2 separate regions of the Homo sapiens genome follow, and region 1 is linked to region 2. The links are contacts of gene promoters, found by promoter capture Hi-C in blood cells and fetal thymus (Javierre and others, 2016). All regions are on one chromosome and are shown on one strand. The core of a region is centred on a gene start or on the middle of the fragment in contact, and the rest is flanking DNA. Distances in the headings are between cores, read along the strand shown. Region 1 holds the start of TMEM71 (transmembrane protein 71). Region 2 overlaps LOC105375769 (a long non-coding RNA gene).

Evidence for each region. The method cuts DNA at HindIII sites, captures the fragments that hold promoters and counts their contacts. A CHiCAGO score of 5 or more calls a contact.
Region 1: a contact is called between the fragment with the promoter of TMEM71 here and a fragment that was not itself captured in region 2, in 1 of 17 cell types (activated CD4 T cells). The highest score is 6.5, in activated CD4 T cells.

Annotation. Positions count from the first base shown.
Region 1 is chr8:132,757,150-132,763,202 of GRCh38, reverse strand. TMEM71 (transmembrane protein 71) reads left to right here and starts at 2,621. Exons shown (of 10, transcript NM_001382403.1): 1 at 2,621-2,727; 2 at 4,288-4,363; 3 at 5,909-5,969. The coding sequence starts at 4,324. The HindIII fragment of the contact is 4,740 bases long and covers 1-2,839 here.
Region 2 is chr8:133,149,840-133,156,064 of GRCh38, reverse strand. The region is part of intron 1 of LOC105375769 (a long non-coding RNA gene); the gene reads right to left. Among named protein-coding and RNA genes, the nearest start is that of CCN4, 38 kb to the left of the region's middle. The HindIII fragment of the contact is 2,206 bases long and covers 647-2,852 here.

The DNA.
Region 1 (6,053 bases), core at 1,372-3,871, 390 kb after region 2:
AGAAGAATAAAGCAGGAAGAGACTAGGGAGTGGTGTGGAGGGCAATTAATTAGTAGCAAGGCAGTGGAGAAAAGAGCTGAGGGAGGGGAGGAAGAAAGCCCTGTGACCCTTAGGGTGAGGGAACACTAACCTCAAAGATCTTGAAGTAGACCCGTGTCTAGTGTATGAGAAACAAGAAGAAGATGAGTGGGTCTCAAGAGAGAAGATTGAGAGGGGAACCATAGGTTTGGAATTTAGTTCTGGCCATTGGCAATTTTGAAAGATTTATGCAAACTCTATAAACCTCTGTCCTGCATGTGGATAACAATTGCACTTATTTTCTAGGGCTACGTGAGGTTGAAACAAGATTACATATGTACAGTGTTTAGTGCAGTGCCTGGTTTGTAGAAAATGCTGACACACGTTGGATATGATCATTACACTTATAGGTTAAGAAAGCAAACTCGAGAGCCATCTCATCAGGGTTTGAATCCTAGCTCTACTTACTCATCACGTACTGGCTATGTGAATTTGGGCAACTCTCTAAACTCAGTTTGCTCTTCTGTAAAATGAGAATAATAATACAGCATCTCCCATGGAATTGATGTAACAATTAATGTGTTGATATGTGGAAAGACCTTAGAACAGTGCCTGGTACATAGTAAGCACTCCTTAAAGTTAGCAATTATTATGATCATTAATAATAAGGTTCTAATATGTGCCAGATCTTTAAAAAAAAAAAAAGTAGACCAAAGTCTTTCTGATGTGAGCTCTTCGGAAAAGTGGATTTGTGGGCACAGGAAGAGCAGAGGGTCTCGAATAAGTCAGAAAGATTTTCCTCCCTCATCTAGAAGAGATAAGCCAAGGCTGGAAGAGGGAGGATGAGGGATAAGAAAAACAGGAAAAGGAGAAGAAGAGAACTGTGAATTCCAGTAAAGAGAATACCAGACAGCTGTGAAGCAGAATAGCTGTCTGTTAAATTTAGGCAGATGTGACCAGGAGTAGCCTTGAGTAAATGTGACTATATTCTACAGGAGTCACTAAAGCAGCAGAGAGTCAGCAATGACAGATGGCTCAGGAAGTGACCTGTGTTAGGACTATGCATCTGCTATGTGTTGCTGTGTAACAAATTACCTCAAAACGTGGTGGCTTGAAATACCATTTGTCACTTCCCAGTTTGCGTGGGCCAGGGAGCTGGGCAGGGCTAGCCTGGGTTGTCTGCTTCTGGGTCTTTCCCAGTTCCAATCGAGCATTAGATGGGGCTGCAGTCAGCTCAAGGCTCAACTGGAGAAGGATCCACTTCCAAGCTCACACACTTGGTTTTTGGCTGGATTCCTGGCTGTTGGATGGAGCATCAGACCCTTACTGGCTTTTGAGACCACTCTTGATTCCTTGACACATGGGCTTCTCCACCATGGCAGCTTGCTTCATCAAAGCAGGCAAGCAAGAAAGTAATAGAGTCCAACAAGATGGAAGCCTCATCATGGTAGTGGAAACTCAGCACCTTTGCCTTACTTTATTTACAAGGAGCATGTCAGCAGCCTCAGTCTACACTCAAGGGATGGAGAATAGACATGAAGTTCCAGAGACAGAGAACTTTGAAATTAGATGGGCCCTCCTCCTGACAGTTCCTGCTGCCTAGAACATGTTCTACAGAAGATCCTGCCATGTGGCAGAACCTCAGGGGGAAAGGGAACCCCAGGAAAGGATGAGATTAACTTTTCCGCCAGCCGGACCAACTGGTGCCTCAGAAGAGAACTTGATTTAAGAAAACAAATAAAGAATACACCTTGCACATCTGTGCTGAGGACTCGATTATTTCTCATTTCTTTTATTTCATTTAATTCTTCAAGCCATCATATGACATATATATTTTTATGTTTATAATTGAGAAAACTGCAACTCAGAGGGGTAAGTCACAAATCTGAGGTCACACAGCTAGGATGGTAGACAGGTTGAATTTCTGTCTTGTGACCCCAGAATCCGCACTCTTTCCACTATGCAGTGGTACCTCAATGTTGCTGGAATATATATTTGAATGTACATTTCTTTTATCACTTACAGTAGTACAGATGTGTATGAACCCATAAACACCATCAAGTCTTTGAGCTCTACTATAATGTAAATGTAAAATGCCATCTATAGAGTTTTTTGTGAAGTCCAACCTTCATTAGATAAACCTATTGCCTCTATAGAAATTTTCATAAGATCAAGCTCTTGCTATTTAATAGTATTCTGAATTTAATAGCATCAGTGCATTATCCTCAATAAATTTAAGTGATTTGGACAAAGATCACTACTCTGCACTACTTATAACTGAATGTGGCCATATGATGAGCAAGAAATGTCAGTTCGCTGAGTCTTTCTCACGTTCTCGCAGCCAAAGGTGACAAGTTAGCTCAGAAAACCACCCCTCCAGTGACCAGGGTGTAACCAGCTGGCCTGACACATGGGCTGCACATTCCCTGCTGCTGGCCCAGGAAACTCTCTGAAATCTTCAGCACACTCCTCAGTGTGAATGCCACTGATGTGAGCCCAACAGGAAGTGTGACCTCATTCTGCTTCTTTGCCTCTGGTTACGCAGGCTGTTTTCAAAAGAAAACAAGAGAAGTTGTAAGACTGACTTTCCCAAGAACTATACACTCATTTATACCAGGAAACAGACAAGAGAACAAGAGGCTGCCGAAGACAAAACTTCTCTGCAAGCACCTGTGCACAGCAATGTGCGTGGGCATCTGTGAGAAGAAGGTAGGGTGGGATTCCCTTTATTAAGAGACTTCTGCACCTGTTGACATTCAGACATTTTTCAGCCGAGGAACTGCTCAGTCCTCAATTTTTCCACTGTCAACCACAGGAAGCTTCGTATTTCAGTAATAATTTTGTCCTTTGTCAATTGGAAGAAGAGGCTGGGAACTCCCTTTGGAAGGAACACGTATGCACACATTATTTTTCAGAATAGATGTGTCGCTTTGATGGAACTGGCAGATTCTGTTTCTTGAAAAGTTTTAGATCTGTAACTGAAGGGCTTTTTTTTTTCCTACTGTTACTAATTTTCTATTGAATGTCAGTGTACTGCCTGTAGATTCTTCTAAGCACTTGTGAGATAGAGCAATAAGACCTTCTTTTGCTGCAGGATTTATAGGCTTAAAATTAAGCTTAATACTTGGGGAACACTAAAATAAGGTAATTTGGGCTGGGCATACCCGTACAATATTGATCAAAAATGAAAAGAACAAGTAACATACTAATATATTACATTACACTGGGATTATTTTATATCCCAAACAAATGAAATTTGTAAATGTGTGCTTTGATTTAGAAATCTTCCAAGGAAGGCCAGAAAGTTCTCCTGACATCTTTACAGGTCTCTATAAACCAGGTTTATATTTTCCTAATAGGGTTTATATATAATTTATTGAAATATTCAACTTGAAGCTGTAGAATTAGCCTGGTTTGATTGATTGAATTACAGCTACAAAAACAATCCATTACTAGTTCTCATGTTACAAAATGTGGCCATAAGTGGTGAATCAGAAAATAATTTACTCCTACCTTATAAAGCGATTAGGATAGTGATACTATATACAAAGTTTCATAGTCAACAGAAGTTGGTTCTATTTGATGAACAGTAAATGATCAAAGTTTGCATAATTTACATACTTTGATATGTTTTTAATTAGTAATTGAGAAATTAAATCATGTCTTCATGGGAACTAAGTTCTAAAATCTTCCCAATGGTATGCTATCTTTAGTGCAACATTACTTATGCTGTTTAGGAATGTCCAGGCTGATAAAAACTATTAAAATCACTCTCTGTGACTACCTGTCAATGGTTCAAGTTGTTGGGAAAAAGACAGACACCAATCTCCAAGCACTGTTTGAAACTTGATAATGAAGTTGACTTGTGTCAGATGATTAAAATACACGTAAGTTTGTTTTGGGGCTAAATGACTGTTAGAACCAGTCATTTTATTAAGATTTCTTAATCAAATACCTCACTTTCATTATTTTCTTTGGATTACAAATCAACCTTTTTAAGTCTAGATTTTCCAAATAAAGTGTGGTTCTTATTTACAGAAAAATGTTATTGAGATGCACTGAGTGAGGCAATGGAAAATGTTCAGTCATAGAGGCAGACACAACTTTAGAGGGGTTGTGTCTTCAGTCTGGTCTCCTACCTTCAATTCTGTATCTCTGTATTATTTCAGTAAACAAATCTGACTAGTGCAATTAGTAGATGCCATCTGTTTTGGCATAATTTTTCTATTTTTAATATATAGTCCACCTTTTTTTTAACATCTTTTGCAGAGAATCTGTGAAGTTTGAGCAAGCGGCCTTCCCAAGATGTACCGAATATCTCAACTGATGTCAACACCAGTAGCAAGTAAATGTAGAAGAACTGTGATACGCAATTATCTTTTGAACGATTAGACTCCTTTTAGCAATTTCCTTGCTTTGATTTTGCTGATACTCAGACCATTAACCATCTGTCAGTAGCTTGTGCTTCTTAAATGCCAGTGTTCACTTTGGCAATGATTTTAACTTCATTTTTTTCCTTGAAAGAAATGTGGTATTTTTCCTTCTAGTAGAAAAAAAAAAATCACCGTTTTTTTTTAGATGCCTGTGCATAAATGTGAAAGGAGATTGTTTATCAGCTACTATTAAGATGCAAAACTGTTTGTATATAAAAAATGCTGAATGATTTTGATAGCTACTTGCAGAAAATAAGAGCGCTGTTAAAACGGTAGTGGTTTCAAGTTTCTTCCTTCCTCTTGTTATTTTCTCCCAAAACCCCACTTCTAACTCTCCCTCACACACCCACAGTTTTCTCCCTACAAATCAACCAGCCCAATCTGAAAGTCTAAATTCCTTTCTTTGTCCTAGATACTAATTGTCCATAATGGAATCAAATTTCACTAGCTTGTCTGTTAGGACTATTGACACCATCTCTGCACACGATAAAATTCTGCTTTAGAGTTTAGAATATTAATCAACTCCAACTTTCTCCAAGTAAAGTCTGTTGCCACGCCTTTGGTTAAAATGGAACGAATGAATGGATGATGTTTCTATAATTAAGAATACTCACAGTCTTTATACTTTGGAAAAATGTTATATAAAACAAAACAAAACTTTATTTCTTCCCCACTAATGTCTTTTGCTCATTATTTTACAGTAGAAGTGTCTTAATATGCACTAATGAGGGAGAGTCTAGAACAATGATTGAATTCCTCAGATTACTGAGTAAGCTGCAATAACCAACACATTGGGTAATTGATTTGGGTTTTCTCCTGCTTCACACAAGACGTTTTTTCCCATCCTTACATGAGCTCAGTTTGATGCTAATGATTTATTATTGCCTCATTCTGCACTAAGAAATTTTTTTTTTTTTTTTTTTTTTGAGACAGAATCTTGCTCTGTCGCCCAGGCTGGAGTGCAGTGGAGCGATCTCAGCTCACTGCAAGCTCTGCCTCCCAGGTTCACGCCATTCTCCTGCCTCAGCCTCCCCAGTAGCTGGGACTGCAGGCGCCCACCACCACGCCCTGCTAATTTTTTGTATATTTTAGTAAAGACGGGGTGTCACCGTGTTAGCCAGGATGGTTTAGATCTCCTGACCTTGTGATCCGCCCGCCTCGGTCTCCCAAATTCTGAGATTACAGGAGTGAGACACTGCGCCCGGAACTTCTAGAGTGTTATGTGGATGAAGGAACAGAAGATAGAAGCCTCTAGTTTATGTCTTGCTTCCGGTAGATCCCTGGTGATAAGGGTACCTGCACTACTGGAGTCTTCCTGCTGAAGCTGGAACATCAGCTATTCCCATCTTCTTACATGCCTCCACTGTTTGCAATTATACATATTGATACATGTATCAACATATGTAACTGTTGATCAGGTATGATACATTCTACTTCTCTCTCATTTGTTTATGCAGGTTCTTCCAGGTTGGAAAGAGAATATGCTGGAGAGCTGTCTCCCACGTGCATTTTCCCAAGGTATACTATGGGGCTTCTTTTAAAAAAATAATCATTCTGGCCGGGCGTGGTGGCTCATGCCTGTAATCCCAGCACTTTGGGAGG
Region 2 (6,225 bases), core at 500-2,999:
GATGGGGTTTCACCATGTTGGTCAGGCTAGTCATGAACTCCCGACCTCAGGTGATCCACCTGCCTTGCCCTCCCAAAGTGCTGGGATTACAGGCGTGAGCCATAGTGCCCGGCCAGATTTTCTTTTTTAAGTTTCTCTTTCAATTTCATCGTCAATGGCTTCACAGATATTTTAGTGAAAAACTGAAACAGCTCATGATATACAGCAAATATAATAACCCCCCAAAAAAGGAATGAAAGTATATATAAATAATTAGTGTTATCTTTAAATTTATACACATCCACACATAGAGACAAAAGGCCAGAAGGATATACATCAAAATATTTAAAATGGTTATTTTTGGAATTTTTGTTGGGTTTACTGGTGACTTTCAATTTTTTAGTTATAATTTTTTTTTACATTTTAAATGTGTGACTTTTTAAAATAAAAAAGCAATGAACATTTTTTAAGAAAAAAATAACAAACTTCAGTAAAATGTGGCTTTAACACTGATACACTTATCCCCGTTAAGAATGTTTATTGATTACATTTTAACTTTCATGAGTCAGAGAATTCACACTCTGACAAACCTGATCTGTCCTCTCCAAAGCCCATATTCTTATTCTGTATAGGTTAAGTAGCAGTTTCCGTATGTCAAGCCAAAGCTTTCTTTCCCAGCCACTTCCTTTAAGTCACCCAAAATAACATTGGAAATTAAAATGTATAGCAGCAAAAAATAGTATGCAGCATACAAATAAGTCACTTATAAATTATCTTGTAATAGCCAAAAAACAGTGGTTTGGATTCAGGCAAGGGGCTATAGGTCTTTCTCTCACCACCTTGAGCAGCCTGTGCAAAGCTGTTATTTCCTGGCCACCCAACAAGCAAGGACCAAATCCTGGAAGAGAACATTAACATCAGGTCATGACATTGGCAAACAGAATTCAGATGTCACTCAGTGAGAGAGAAGTCCCTTGACCGTCTATCCCAAAGAGACTGCACATGTATACGCAGTGACTCCATTTGTCAAGAAATGACTAAATTATGTTTTCTGTTATCTGGCAAGATGAGGGCCCAAAGTAGACTTTAAGTTGGACTTTTGTTTGTCTGTTTCTGTGACTGTGAAATTTGTAATCCACTGCATTGATAATCAGAAGTTCCCTCTGGTAATGAGCTTCCCATTTGAAACCTTCCCTTCCCTTCCCTCCCCTCCCCTCCCCTCCCCTTCCCTCCCCTGCCCTCCCCTCCCCTCCCTTCCCTTCCCTTCCATTCCCTTCCCTCTTTCTTTTCTTTTCTTTTTTTTGGACAGAGTCATGCTCTGTTGGCCAGGCTGGAGTGCCATGGTGTGATCTCAGCTCACTGCAACCTCCGCCTCCCAGGTTCAAGCAATTCTCCTGCCTCAGCCTCCCGAGTAGCTGGGATTACAGGTGCCCACCATTACGCCCAGCTAATATTTTGTATTTCTAGTAGAGACGGGGTTTCACCATGTTGGCCAGGCTAGTCTTGAACTCCCAGCCATGGGTGATCTGCCTACCTTGGCCTCTTAAAGTGCTGGGATTATAGGCATGAGCCACAGTGCCTGGCCCCATTTGAGATTTTTCAATGAGGCTAACTCAACCAGTAAGCAGTAACATCTATTTTCCATGGCCCAGCCTTTGCTTCATGGGCCATGTGGAGCTCTACTTTGGATTGCCCAAGACCATAAGGTCCCTAGAACCTGGCAGCAAATGGACTTAATGCAGAAATCAAGGGCAGATACAGAAGGGAGGGACAGAGTAGTGGAAGAACAGAGGCACTAGGAGAGGGGATTTAGGGAGATAGGAGGCTATGTGAAGTTGTCCTTTGACTCTGCTCATGGTCTATTGAGTGCTAAGAAGAGGTGGCTACAGGCATAGATAGAACATTCAGTTTGTCCAGAGGAATTGCTGGCCTGGCAAGGGGGCCTCCAGGGTGTCTTATAGCAGCAAGGTTCTAAATGCATGAGTGAGTGTGCATGTGTGTAGGGGGAGTGTATGGAGGTGGGTGGGAGGGATACCCCCCCCAGGGGAGCATATAAACCATTGGCAGTGGAAGGGCACCAGCCAGTCAGCAGATAACCTATGGGTGTGCTTGCAGGCTATAAATAACCAGTAGAGGTGTGTCGATGCATTCCAGCTGAATATCAGCACTGCTTCTCTTGTCATTAGCAGGACGTACACACTGTGGTAGTGCAGGGCAGCATAGCTCAGGACAATAACCTGCATATAGGCTACAGCTCCAAGCACAGTAGGTAGCACCATCCTGGGAGTAAAGTGGGACCTTTTGAGGCAGGCATTTTCAAGCCACTTCATGATGCATCAAGATGGCTGGGTCTGAATATAAAATGACTGCCCGTATTGCTGCCTAATGTACTCAACAAATATTCATGAGTCTTACCTGTGAGCCCGACCTAGCCATACTCTCACCTCAGGGTTAGGGGAAAGGATTAGGAACAGAGAAATCATCTTGGACAGATGAGGTGTCTGGGGTGCATATTCTATGGAACTAAGAAGCAGACGCTGTAATGGTTTCTCTGTTGGAGATGGTCTCAGTGGTCCCCTTTCCCGGAGATGATGTTGCTTCTACTTGGCTCTGGGGTGATGGGTCTCCACAGCGGTTGTAAGTAGGAGAGACAGAAAGGGAAGACAGAGCAAATACAGCCACAAGGACACTAATGGAACCTTGAAGGCACTCTCCAGGACCTCTTGGGGAGAGTACAGAGGTTTTAATGGGTAGATCTTTGGATACAGAGTCTGAAGAAATGGCAGTGTGAGCTTTGTTCCAGGGAAGAGGGCCAGGCAGGAGGGAAAAAGTAGATGGATGTGATAAAGGGTCTACATGGTTTCTCCCAAGCTTTTGGAAAGGAATACGGGGCCTCAGAGGCACAGTCTGAAGGCAGGGTGAGCAGATTCAATTGTGAGACACATTGTAGTAAGTGGTGGGCCCACACGCTTTCGGAATGAGTCAGGGACTGCCTGCTTACAGTGGTTATTTTCCACCCCAGCCCATATGGGCTGATTCTGAGCTTCAGAGGAAACCACTTGGCAAGAGGCAGCCTGAGAAATCTCAAATCCTATACAAATTTCTTCCTCTTCTGCACGCTACCTGACCTCCAGCCCTAGCACATGTAAGCACACATGTGCACGGCACACACACATCCCTCCCGGAACAGCACAAGGGAGTACATCCACATGCAATCACACACACATGTGACCTTCAACTCCAACACATGTATACCCGCTCCCCTGACACACATGCAGAAATAGAGCATCGACTCACTCACCCCCTCATTCACACTGCGCTGGAGTGAAAGGAAGAAGTCACAGAGCACATGCCCCAGGGAAGCTCCACTGGATACGGGACCCTCTGTTATCATTAGTAGAGTTGGGAGAGGTAGGGAGTGAATCTGCTGAAGTGCACACTAAGGAACTACTAGAATTTTAAAGCCTCAGAAATGTTGTTTTGGTGGGGCTAAAGATGGAAAACAGGGGTGGATGTCTCTTTGATGTAGAAAAATGCCATGTGAGCTATTTGGATTAAGAAAAGCAAACTTTTCTCCCTACCCTTCTCAGAGTGTGAACATAAGCTATTTCTAGATGAAGACAACTTTCCTGATAACATAATCGTAATTTCAGACTTTTTTCTGATGGGAAGGAAAATGGGTGGATGGCTCTTTGGTGTAGAAAAATGCCATGCGAGTCTCTTGGGTTAAGAAAAGCAAAACTTTTCTCCCTTCCCTCCTCAGGGCATGAACATAGGCTAGTCATAGATGAAGACAACTTTCCTGATAACATAATCATAATTTCAGATTTTTTTCTGGTGGGAAGAGGGAGGGAGAGGCCACAATCTGGAAAGAGAAGAGGAAGAGAATATAGGAACATTTCTTAGTAGGAAAGTTCCACAGGCTAGTGGGAGGCTGGGCTTGGGGAGAAGGATGGACACTGTAGTTGTCCAGTGGTATGATGGCCAAGAGCTCAGAATGATCTTGTGTTACTTATCCAGTGTTTCCCTGATCTTTTGTGGGTCATATTTATGACTCGGCCTTTAGGAAGACTCCTACTACTAAAGCAACTGGGTTTGGGAAAAGGAGGGTGAGAATCGAAGCCATGGATGGGGGAGGCATTTCAGGGAGAAGGCAGCAGAGGCAGGAGGCAGACACTGAGTGAGGAGGACTGGAATTTAGAGGGTCACACGCTGGAGGTGGGCACAGGAGGATGGCCTGTCTGGGCATCACCATTGGCCAGGCATCAGTGTTGGAAACGAATTCCAGTGTTGGCATGGTGTTGGTTTTCTTGCTAAAAGGAAACTTCCAAGGCCAGGTTGGCAAGAGGAGAGGACACAGGAAACTCACCCTTCCATCACCTCTGAGAGGCAGAGTGACTTCCCAGGGAAGGGGCACAGCCTCACTATGAGAAAGCAGCCTTCTCAGTGGAGAGGTTAATTGCCAGGCACCTCAGTGCATTTGGGTGTCAGTTGTTTATAGCTGTTGTGTGGGAAACCGGCTGCTCCATGCTTGGATATCTTGAGCACCATGAAAAGTTGCAGTCCCTGCCACCGGGGATGAAAGATCCAGTCTAGCGGGAAGCTCAGCCCAAGTGGAGCCCCTCTAGCTGGGAGGAGAGGGCTCTTGGTCCCTGAAAGTTTATTGTCCAGGCAGCACATAGTGCGTTCCCCAGGCCATTGCCAGACAATCTCTCTTATTGCTCTTTCCAGAGTTCACAGGGAGGGCAATTGACTTCCCAAGGTATGAGAGATGGCAACTGGAGCCATTTATTCTCATTAAAAGAAAAGGTGACCACAAAAAGGACTGGAGAGAGTCTGGGAAAATGAGGTCATTTATACAGGCTCCAGAGTCACAGATATCTGTTTGACACCTTTCAGCCCTTGAACAACTCACCATCCAGAGAGGGAGACAGGTGTGTAACTGATTGCAAGTCGATGTTCTAAGTGGTAAATGGCACCAGTGATATTCTGTAGGAGAGTTGAGAAGCGAGTTCCCAGCTTCCTAGAGAGGCCAAGGCAGGGTTCACAGAAAGGGAGATGTGAAAAGGAAGAGGAGGTCACCAGGGAGAAGAGAGGAGAGCATGCCAGGCAGGGCAGGAATGCCACCTGAGCAGAGGCAGGAGATGTGAATAAGCCTGACCCGGAAGTTGGGGTTGACGTCTGCGAGAAGCTGTTCTGGAACAACATTCTTTCTCAACCTCTGCCAAGCTGAGTGTCTACAACCAGAAACACTAAGATTTCTGCCAGGAGGCGCTGGCTTTGGGTGGTTAATAGCCCAGGTTTGCCTGCTGCCTTCTCTCACTGTCTTTTCAGAGTAGAAGGGGTGGCTTGCTAGTTGGAGGAAATTCTGCATCTTTCAGACAGACAATGAGTTGAGGATAGGTAATGGCTACCACAGCAATGTGACTGGCCAGCGTGGTAGAGAAATGTCGTCACCAGAAGAGAACTCGGTTGAGTAAGTCCAGACGAGTCTGCTGTAACTGGCTGAGGAAGTTGTGTCCTGCACAATAGTATCAGCTTAGTTCCTGTTGGGGAAGAGTCATGGTGGAACTCCAGCCCTTGCTCTGCCCACCAAGCCACAATCCTAGAGGGTGGGCCTCCACAGAGTGGGGGACCTTTTTCTAAGTGAAACACGGGCTCTATATTGATGAGTAAAGGTCCCAGAACCGCTGGCCTGGATCTAGGAGTCCTATGTTCTAGTTCTTCCTTCACTCCCCAGGAGGGTCTGTCCCAACTGGAGAAATGGTTCTACTTCCCCACTGACTTATGAAACACAGTGTGACATAGTGGGTCAGAGGAGGAATACAATGAACAAAAATACGCCGTGGAGTTGATGTCAGATAAATGACTCACAGGAGACCCCAAGGGCCAGCTTTGTGACCCTCGGCAAGTTCCTCTCCCTTTCTGAGCCTGAGTGTTTCTATTTGTGAAATGGGGATGATAATCTGTACCCTGGACAACCTGCCATAGCTGTTGTAAGGTTCAGACAAGTCATGAGCATTCGCAGCCTATGAGCACTCACAAGATGGTAGTGTGTGTGTATGTGCGTCCGGAAGTGGAAGTCTGGTCTCTGATAAACTGTGTGTGAAGTCACTGTGGGGGCAGGGGTCGTATTATATCGTACCCAAGATTCCTGCCAGCCCTGCCAGGACCTCAATTAGCAGGTGTCCATGTTACGCGGGCTGAGGTCGGCCAGGCTCAGCCACTGTCAACCTGTTGGGGGTG